Regions from separate parts of the Homo sapiens genome. Here region 2 is linked to region 1. The links are contacts of gene promoters, found by promoter capture Hi-C in human tissues and cell types (Jung and others, 2019). All regions are on one chromosome and are shown on one strand. The core of a region is centred on a gene start or on the middle of the fragment in contact, and the rest is flanking DNA. Distances in the headings are between cores, read along the strand shown. Region 1 holds the start of ARID5B (AT-rich interaction domain 5B). Region 2 overlaps ZNF365 (zinc finger protein 365).

Evidence for each region. Contacts are between HindIII fragments. The study calls those that stand out against the background at their distance.
Region 2: a fragment that was not itself captured here is called in contact with the fragment with the promoter of ARID5B in region 1 in 1 of the 25 tissues and cell types used here (dorsolateral prefrontal cortex).

The regions. Positions count from the first base shown.
Region 1 is chr10:61,898,993-61,903,738 of GRCh38, forward strand. ARID5B (AT-rich interaction domain 5B) reads left to right here and starts at 2,707. Exons shown (of 10, transcript NM_032199.3): 1 at 2,707-2,738; 2 at 3,167-3,421. The coding sequence starts at 2,718. RefSeq lists silencers at 1,229-1,398, 4,139-4,458 and an enhancer at 2,397-2,899. The HindIII fragment of the contact is 5,601 bases long and covers 1-4,746 here.
Region 2 is chr10:62,388,546-62,393,714 of GRCh38, forward strand. It overlaps ZNF365 (zinc finger protein 365), which reads left to right. Exons shown (of 5, transcript NM_014951.3): 3 at 1-31. Among named protein-coding and RNA genes, the nearest start is that of ZNF365, 17 kb to the left of the region's middle. The HindIII fragment of the contact is 3,941 bases long and covers 531-4,471 here.

The sequences.
Region 1 (4,746 bases), core at 1,457-3,956:
CAATTGTTAACATCTCAGAAACCTTATCGGAGAGATAAGGCAGCATGCATCCTAGTTCAGTGCCTACCTTGAAGAGCTGAAGAAACAGGGTTTCTAATTAGATGAAGTTCGTTACACACTTAAAGACTTACAGCACCAAAGACAGTAGAAGTAGCTTAGATGCTGTAAAGAGCTGTATAATTTTTTAAGAAAGAGATTTAATATACAATTGAGGGATACCCTCAGGCATTCTGTTGAGGTTTCCTGCATAAATGCTGCTGCATTGGTCATACAGGAAACTGACTCAGAGTCGATCTCAAATACGATCTTGTCAAAATACTGCAACTCAAGTTTTTTTAATATAGGATTTCTTGAACTGGATGTATATATTTACGCTAACACGACAGAGACTAACAGAAGCTTTAGGCATATCTATTTTTAAAAAAGACATGTAAAATGCCCCTCAGTCAAGTCCATTCATATGTTAAAAATGAACAAAATGGGCGATTCTAATCAAACGTCTGCAGTATGCATTATAAAGTTAAAAAGAGAGAGAGAAAGCGCAGGAGAGCTATAATTTCTCTTTGTAACCCATGTTTATAAAATAGAAAGATCAGATGAAATTTCAAGAGATAATTAAAGAGTGATGTGCAAGTCATAATTTGGCTAATGTTAAAGATGGGAGACTGCGAATTGTAGTCCTCCATGGTGCAGAGTTGTGATATTACTTTAAATTATTAAAATAGTTTTCGACAGCTTTCAGAATACCGGCTCTTTGGCATGGGCTTTTATTATTTATTGTAATTAGAGGATCTGCCATTTTCTTTCGTTTATCTCTGTGTGTATAGAAACGAGATAGATTTTGCCTTTTATTACTTCCCCATATTCTGAATCAAAAATGTGGTTTAGATAATGTTAAGTGCCCTAATTCTTACTGCAGCGGACGCAGACGTTATGAAAAGGCATAAAAATACACACAGAGGGTCTTTCCACCTCAAGTCACTGAATATGAGGCATTTGTGCTCTGCCGGGTGTATTAACTTCAGCCATGTGAATATAATTTTCATTAAAGTAATCCTGTTTCAACTAGATGCTGTGACTAGAGGTGAAACGTTGCGAAAGCGTTAAAAATAGCTTACTAGTAATTTCAACATCCTGTAATTTTATCACAGATCAAGTTTCAACTGTCATACTATACAGACCTTATTCCCCATATAGTACATGTTTACTTTTTTAGCATGCCAGACCCACTTTGGAAAGATTGGTGCCAATATAATAAAAGCTGGAGGGGGGGTGTGCTGGAAGGAGTGGGAGGAGAGCGGGGAAGGGGGTGGGGGAACGTGGGGGAAGCGAGTACACCATTTTAAATCAACACTGCGAAAATGCAATCTAGCCTGGCGGAGGACCGGCAGCTGGGTCGGAGCTTGCGAGGGCTTTGCAGTCTCTGCCTGTTCCTTGTTCTGTCGCTCTTAAGTTTCTCTGTGTTTGCATAATAGCCGTGCATGCAAACCTCGCAATGCTCCAGGGCTCCAGAACAATAAATATACACATTTAAAGCCTTTATTGTCTTACGGTTCATGCCCCCGGTTTTCAACAGCTTAATTTCTGGTTGTATTTAACTAGTTTGCAAATGGATTTTTTCAGTTTCAAACTATTATTGAGGAAGCTCCCCTCCCTTTTTTGGCGGGGGAGGGGATGGGGGTGGGGTAGGAGTCGGTATATTATTCCTGTAGCGCTGGGTTATATAAACACATTATCATTTGAGAGCGCCCTTGGCGTCCATCAGCATTGTAAACACGTACTAGTGTATATACTTCAAAATTAAAGAATGCACACGCAGAACCGGGAGCCTGAATTCATATTCTGAGCAGACTCGCTTCTCGCATTTATTGATTTATCATGCATCGTTTATTGTTCCAGTCCCTAAATGCAGTCGCTGTCCGTTCAATATTGTTTGCGAAATCCTAAGATGTGTGTGCACTGCTCACTTGTCTCTTTTTTTTTTGCTGAGTATTTTTTTGCGAAGCGAACAAATGCATTAATATTTATATGTTTATATAATCGATAACCCACTTTTCCCTTCCATGTAAATAGGCATCAAAAGATAATTTAACAGATTAGTTCTCGAAAACATGGCAGTGAGGAAGCGTAATTTAACTATCAAACAAATCTACATGTCTAATAACAGCAAATCTGCTAAGAAGCATTAGAAAGAGGAGCAGCGCCCCGGAATCTCTGCAGGAAATGTTCTTTATATTAGACATATACAAGCAGGTCCTGTCAGATGCACAGTGGAGCTCGCTACCCCTCCTCTCCTCCAAAAATCTCATCAGACGATATCCCAGACAGGAGCGGTTAGAGAGAGAGGAATCACATCTCCACACAGTTTTAGGGTGCTTTTTATTTTTACAAATCTTCTTGTGTGTTTTTTGCCTTGATCCATCCTCTTCCCGCCGAGATCGTATGGCGCCTTTCTCTCGATTATGAATTTGATCAATCCATCTTTGGAAGAAAACCCACATAGTTTTTTCAGGAGCTGAAAATTGAGTCGTTATAGAAATATTAGGACATATTTTCAATCATTTCGGTGCCCGAAGGGAGGCAAGAGCTCAGTTTTATATTGAGACATTACGCCGGCTGAAGGCAGAGAATGCGTTTCCCTGCCAGGACCTGATGCAATCCATTCAAGCCAACAAGTTTGGAGAGAATGTTGAGTTCAATCAATTCAGAACGTCGAGATGGAGCCCAACTCACTCCAGGTATTTCGCTCTCCTCCGCTCCTCCGATCCCGGCACCCCCCGGCACCCCCCAACCCCCCAGCTCACCCACACCTCTGCACCCACCCACACCCCCCACAAACTTTTCACCAAACTTTTACCCTCTGCATCCCCCAAAATCATTTTTATTGTTTAAAAAAATCCCTGCACTGATCATACATACATAATGTAATTTTACCGCCTCAAATGGGGAGGTGGGTAGAAGTGGCGGTGGGGGGCCCTGAGTTTTTTTTTTTTTTTTTTTAGGGAAGCAGAAAATTTGTGGGTGCTATTATTTTTCCACCCAGCGTTATATCTGTTGGGTCGTCTGTATTAAGAGAGTGGATGTCTGTGTGTAAATGTGTCTGGGAATAGATGTTTGTGCTCTGATGGCTACATTATTTATTTGGTGTTTTTTTCCCCCCCTGCAGTGGGTCGGCTCACCGTGTGGCTTGCACGGACCTTACATTTTCTACAAGGCTTTTCAATTCCACCTTGAAGGCAAACCAAGAATTTTGTCCCTTGGCGACTTTTTCTTTGTAAGATGTACGCCAAAGGATCCGATTTGCATAGCGGAGCTCCAGCTGTTGTGGGAAGAGAGGACCAGCCGGCAACTTTTATCCAGCTCTAAACTTTATTTCCTCCCAGAAGACACTCCCCAGGGCAGAAATAGCGACCATGGCGAGGTGGTAAACCTGTCTGTCCCCCTCTTCTTTCTTTATTATTTTTCCCCCTAGTAATGCTTATTACAGGGCAAGCTTGAAAATACTGTATTCACTTCTGCAGGCAAGCAGGATCGACTCCTTTTTTAAAGGGGTAGCGCCACTAGCTGGGGCTCGAGTATTTTGCCATTGTCAGAGTTTGGCTGTCAGCTTTACAAAGAGGATCCAACTGCTGATTTTAGTCAAGATCAAATAACTTGTTCGAGAAGGGTTTTGTTCAAGGATGTGTGTGTGTGTGTGTGTGTGTGTGTGTATGTGTGTGTGTGTGTTCATTTGCTCTCCTGCTATTGCCTCTTGAACATCACATGCTTTTTATATTTTTTGCCTTTTGAAAATTTACCTTCGTGTCTGGCTCGGTCGTGTCTGGGTGGATTTCTTTCGGTGGGTTTCGATATTGTTCTTTTTTCAAAGTAAGTATTTGATATGTTTAAGAGGGCGGAAATTACGAAATGGAGGCAGAATGAGATCAAAAGCTATTGAGTTGGCAAAGACGTGTTGAATAAAGTGATAAATGACAGGTACTGGAATAATACATTCAAATAACTTGCAGATCTGCCCGGGCGGATTTCAAAGCGGTGGTGTAACAGGCACAAACACGTTAAGCATTAACAACTATCTCTCGCCCACTCCCCCTCCCCCCGGACAAGCCATTTGATGTTCTAGTTTGCAATTACTCCACGCAAAGTGGACGTCCTCCTGCGCGATCTTTGGGGGTGTGTGGGACGGGGGCGGGGGAGGGGAGGGCAGAGGGGTGTGTGCTCGCCCACTGGCCCTGCGGGTCCAGCGTTCTCCGTGCCCAGACGGCGCTCCCGGGGAGGGCGGGGAGGGGACAGAGCCTCCCCGGCACGTTTCTGGGCGGCCGCGGGGGCGCTCGCCGCGCTCCCGGGAGGACGCCGGAGGTGAGCCCGCTGTCACTGGGCGCCGGGGCGGCCGCCTCCCTTCGGCTCTGTCATTTCATGTGTGACCGCAGTTCTGCGGGCTCCCCTCCTCAGCTGACCGACCTCAGCGCCGTGGTACCTACCGAGGGGAACTATTTTGGGGAGTCTGTGCCCACGGCGCAGCGGGGAGGGAGGGCGCACTGCCGCCTGGCGAGGCTTTGTGTTGCCAAAGCGAGAGCAGGGTAATCAAACAGACTTTTGAGGGCAGCTAGTGCTGTGCCAGGCTCTCGAGCTTTCGAGGTAGGTGTAAGGATCTAAGGATCTTTTTGTTAAATGAATGGTTTCCCGTTTAACTCATCCCGGGGCTCGGAGCTGCCAGTCCTTCCAGAATTCCTCGGTTTGATCGAGTTG
Region 2 (5,169 bases), core at 1,251-3,750, 490 kb after region 1:
TGGCTTTGTCCGTGATCTCAGCGGGCACGTGGTGAGTCACCCCGGGCCAGCCACCGAGTGTAAGATCCCTGTGGTTGGTGAGAATGGGCTGAGGACAGAGAAAAGGGAGCTGGGTGACTTGCAGGGACTCTCTAGACATCATTTGAGAGCACTGCCTGGGCCATGCCTGTATTGTGGAAATGTTACTGGGGAGTCCAGGACGCCTGGAAGTAAGGTAAATGCTGCATGTGCCGTTTTCAGTCGCTCTTCACCCTCCCACTCCACATCATGCTGAGTTGGTAGAAATATATATATTTTAAATTTGTAAAATAGAAGAGTTTGAAGTATCCAAAGAAATCATTCATTTCAATTTTGATGTTCAAGTAGCTCAGAAGTTATTATCATGTTTTGGAGGTCTTCAAGAGAATCTTACGAAATTCAGTAAAGTAAGATCAAACCACATACACATTTTTTTCCTTAATGGGGGGCAAGCACTGTTCAACAGTCTCTATAAGTTAAAATTCTTCATATAGATTTTCAAAAAGACTGAAAGATTCACAAGTGATAGTTCTAGGGTAGATTCCTGCATACAGTTTTGCATATAGTTTCAGGAGTTTAAGAAACGCCTAAAGCCCAGATGAGATCCCTGGATGTGGATAAAGATCCAGGTTCTCATAGGGGGCTTGATCAGGATTCCCTTGGTCTCGTTGGAGGGCGGAGGGAGGTACAAATAACCATACTCTAGGTCGATGGGGGGCGGGGGTGGGTGGTCATATTTGCCCTGTCTACGGTTTCCTACAACAAAACCAAGGAAATATTTTGGATACCCCAAAGCGGTTTATTTATAACATTTTCATTACTTATTGAACTTTATTTATGCTTACCTCCTTCCTAGCAGATTTAAAAATAGTTTTGTTTTTTTTTTTACTGCTTCCACCCCCGCAGCAAATGGGCTCTATTATAAGGAAAAGAAAATAGGCAACATTTATGCCGATCAAAAGATTAGCAAGGTTGCTATTGGTTGATTTAAAAGTTTACTTAGAGCTTTCTGGAAGCCAGGGTGAAAAGGCAACATGATTAAATAAGAAAACTAATTGTCCAGATGAAGGAATGAAATGAAAGGCAGGTGGATAAAAGAAGGAACAGCAGAGAGGAAGGGAGGAAGGACGGAAAGAAATGAAGAAATCCTACATGGTGCTTGTTGTAATCATGTACACTTGGCCTTAGCGCAGCTCAGTGATATAAGCCCCAGAACTTTCCAGAACAAAAAGAGACTGGAAGGAAGTGTGTTACATCTGTGAGGTTTCAGGTGCTATATTCAAAGAAGTCTCATCCATGTAACATATTTATTATTTTCTGGGTGGATGTCTGTGGTCTTCTACGTAAAATGCTTCTGAGGGGGAAGTCACACCACACTTTGATCCCTCTCCATCTCCTCCTTGGGAAACCATGAGCGTGTCCAGCCTTGACTAGCTGTGGCTGGAGGGACTATCTGAGCCTCTTTCTGCCGTCTTCTTTCATCCTGCCCTCTTAAGAGAGGGTTGGGGCATGAGGTTATGGTGCCCAGATGTGAGGTGAAAAGGCCTGAAAATGCCTGGCTTCCGGTTTATTCTTACTCTGCTTCTGACTGGGCAAGATAGTTAGTCTTCCTGGGCCTATATTTCTTCTGTAAAATGAAGGGGTTGGATTCAGTGCTTTCCAGGTTGTTTTGGCCTCTTAACTTGTGTGAGCATCACCTGACTTTGATGGTTAGGAATTCTAAAATTAAAATGTAACATTGACACTTTCATATTTAGAATTATAAGTCATCCAGAGCTAAGAAATGTATGAAATCTTCCGATACTCAGCCAAGAGGAATCTCAAAGAGAGAAAACAATGGAAGGCAAGGAGGAAGTAAGGAAGCCCATTCATTCTCTCTTTTAAAATTGTTTTTGCTCACCTTTTTTGCTTAGTTTATTTTTTTGGCTTGAAAGTTGAACATTTTTTAAAGAGACATAGCCAGTCATTATTTCTCATCATGCCAAATAATGTAATCAAAAGTTGGGTAGCATTTTGGCTCTTCTAGTTAGATATGTACATGCAAAATTATATCCAGTTGTGTCGCTTTACAATGTGACACATTCTGAGAAATGTGTGGTTGGGCAATTTTGTCATTGTATGAACATCATAGAGTGTATTTACACAAACCTACATGGTATAGCCCACCACATGCCTAGGGTATATGGTATATGGCCTATTACTCCCAGGCTATAAACCTGTACAGCATGTTACTGTACTGACTACTGTAGGTGATTGGAACACAATGATAAGTATTTATGTATCTAAACAGATAGAGAAGAAGAGAAGGTACAGTAAAAATATGATATTTAAAAAAGGTAAGAAATAGTATAGCTGTATAGGGCATTTACCATGAATGGAGCTTGCCGGATTGGAATTTGCTCTGGGTGAGTCAGTGAGTGTCTGGTGAGTGAATGTGACATTACTGTACACTACTGTAGACTTTATGAACACTGTACACTTAGGCTACACTAAATTTGTTTAAAACTTTTCTCTCAATAATAAATTAACCTTAGCTTACTATAACTTTTTTACCTTATAGACTTTTAAATTATTTTTTAACCTTTTGACTCTTTTGTAATAACAGCTTAAAACACAAACATTATATAGAAGTACAATAATATTTTCTTTTTTAAGTTTTTTAAATTTTTAATTTTTGATTTCCATTGGTTTTGGGGGAACAGGTGGTGTTTGGTTACATGAATAAGTTCTTTAGTGGTGATTACTGAGATTTTGGTGCACCCATCACCCAAGCAGTGTACACTGTACCCAGTTTGTAGTCTTTTATCTCTCACACCCCTCTCATCCTTTCCTCCTCCACCCCCTCCCCCGAGTCCTCAAAGTCCATTGTATCATTCTTAAGCCTTTGCATTCTCATAGCTTAGCTCCCACTTATGAGTGAGAACATACAATGTTTGGTTTTCCATTCCTGAGTTACCTCACTTAGAATAACGGTCTCCAGTTCCATCCACGTTGCTGAGAATGTCATTCTTTCTTTCCTTTTTATGGCTGAGTGGTATTCCACGGTATATATAAACCACAATTTCTTTATCCACTCGTTGATTAATGGGCATGGGCATTTGGGCTGGTTCAGTATTTTTTCAATTGCAAATTGTCCTGCTGTAAATGTGTATGCAATTATCTTTTTCATGTAATGACTTCTTTTCCTCTGGGTAGATACCCAGTAGTGGGATTACTGGATCAAATGGTAGTTCTACTTTTAGTTCTTTAAGAAATCTCCACACTGTTTTCCATAGTGGTTGTACTAGTTTACATTCCCACCAGCTGTATGAAAGTGTTCGTTCCCTTTTCGCCACATCTCTGCCAACATCTATTTAAAAACTTTTTCATTATGGCCATTCTTGCAGGAGCAAGGTGGTATCACATTGTGGTTTTGATTTGCATTTCCCTGATCATTAGTAATGTCGAGCATTTTTTCATATGTTTGTTGGCCATTTGTATATCTTCTTTTGAGAACTATCTATTCCTGTCCTTAGTCTACTTCTGATGGGATTGTTTTTTTCTTGCTAATTTGTTTGAGTTCCTTGTAGATTCTGGATATTAGTCCTTTATCAGATGTATAAATTACGAAGATTTTCTCCCACTCTGTGGGTTGTCTGTATACTCTGCTGATTATTTCTTTTGCTGTGCAGACTTAAGTTTAAGTCTCATCTATTTATCTTTGTTTTTGTTGCATTTGCTTTTGGGTTCTTGGTCATGAAGTCTTTGCCTAAGCCATTGTCTAGAAGGGCTTTTCTGATGTTATCTTCTAGAATTTGTATGGTTTCAGGTCTTAGATTTAAGACCTCGATCCATCTTGAGTTGATTTTAGTATAAGGTGAGAGATGAAGATCCAGTTTCATTCTTCTACACGTGGCTTGCCAATTATGCCAGCACCATTTGTTGAATAGGGTGGCCTTTCCCCACTTTATGTTTCTGTTTGCCTTGTCGAAGATCAGTTGGTTGTTAAGTATTTGGCTTTATTTCTGTGTTCTCTATTCTGTTCCATTGGTCTATGTGCCGTTTGTTTGTTTGTTTGTTTGTTTGTTTGTTTGTTTGTTTGTTTTTGAGACGGAGTCTTGCTCTGTTGCCAGGCTAGAGTGCAGTGGCGTGATCTCGGCTCACTGCAACCTCCACCTCTCGGGTTCAAGTGATTCTCCTGCCTCAGCCTCCTGAGTAGCTGGGATTACAGGCACCTGCCACCACACCCAGCTAATTTTTTGTATTTTTAATAGAGACGGGGTTTCACCACATTGACCAGGCGGGTCTGGAACTCCTGACCTCAGGTGATCCGCCCGCCTCGGCCTCCCAAAGTGCTGGGATTACAGGCGTGAGCCACCGCACCCGGCCCTATGTGCTTATTTTTATACCAGAGAAGTACAATAATATTCTCTTCATGTGCTTTATTCAATAAGCTTTTTTTCTATTTTTACATTTTTTAATTTTTCTGTTAAGCTTTTTTTTTTTTGGTTAAAATCTAAGACACAAATACACACAGAGCCAGGATTATCAATATTCCTGTTCGCATCTTTTCCCACTGGAAGGTCTTCAGAGGCTATAGCGCGTACTGAGCTGTCATCTCCTATGGTCACAACACCTTCTTTTGGAATACTTCCTGAAGGACCTGCCTGAGGCTGTTTTACAGATAACATTTTATTTTTATAGAACAGGTACAGTCTAAAATAGAAAGATTAAAAGTATAGTATAGTAAATACACAAACCGGTAGCCTAGTCGTTTATTGTCATTATCAGGTATTATGCTCTGTACATGATTATATGTGCTATACTTCTATGTGACTGGCAGCACAGTAGATTTGTTTACACCAGCATCACCACAAACAATTCATTGTGCTACAACATTATAACAGCTATGGTGTCACTTGGTGATAGGAACTTTTCAGCTTTGTTATAATGTTATGGGAACACCCTCGTATATGCAGTCTGTCGTTGACTGAAACATTGTTTTTTAGTACATGACTGTGTATATGTGTGTGCCACACACAAATGTACATATACATGTACATGCATGCATATACACACATAAATACATGCACAAAAATGTACACATCCATATATACATACACAAATGGTGGGAAATTAATAAATATTTATGTTTGTACCTTCTGTATTCCA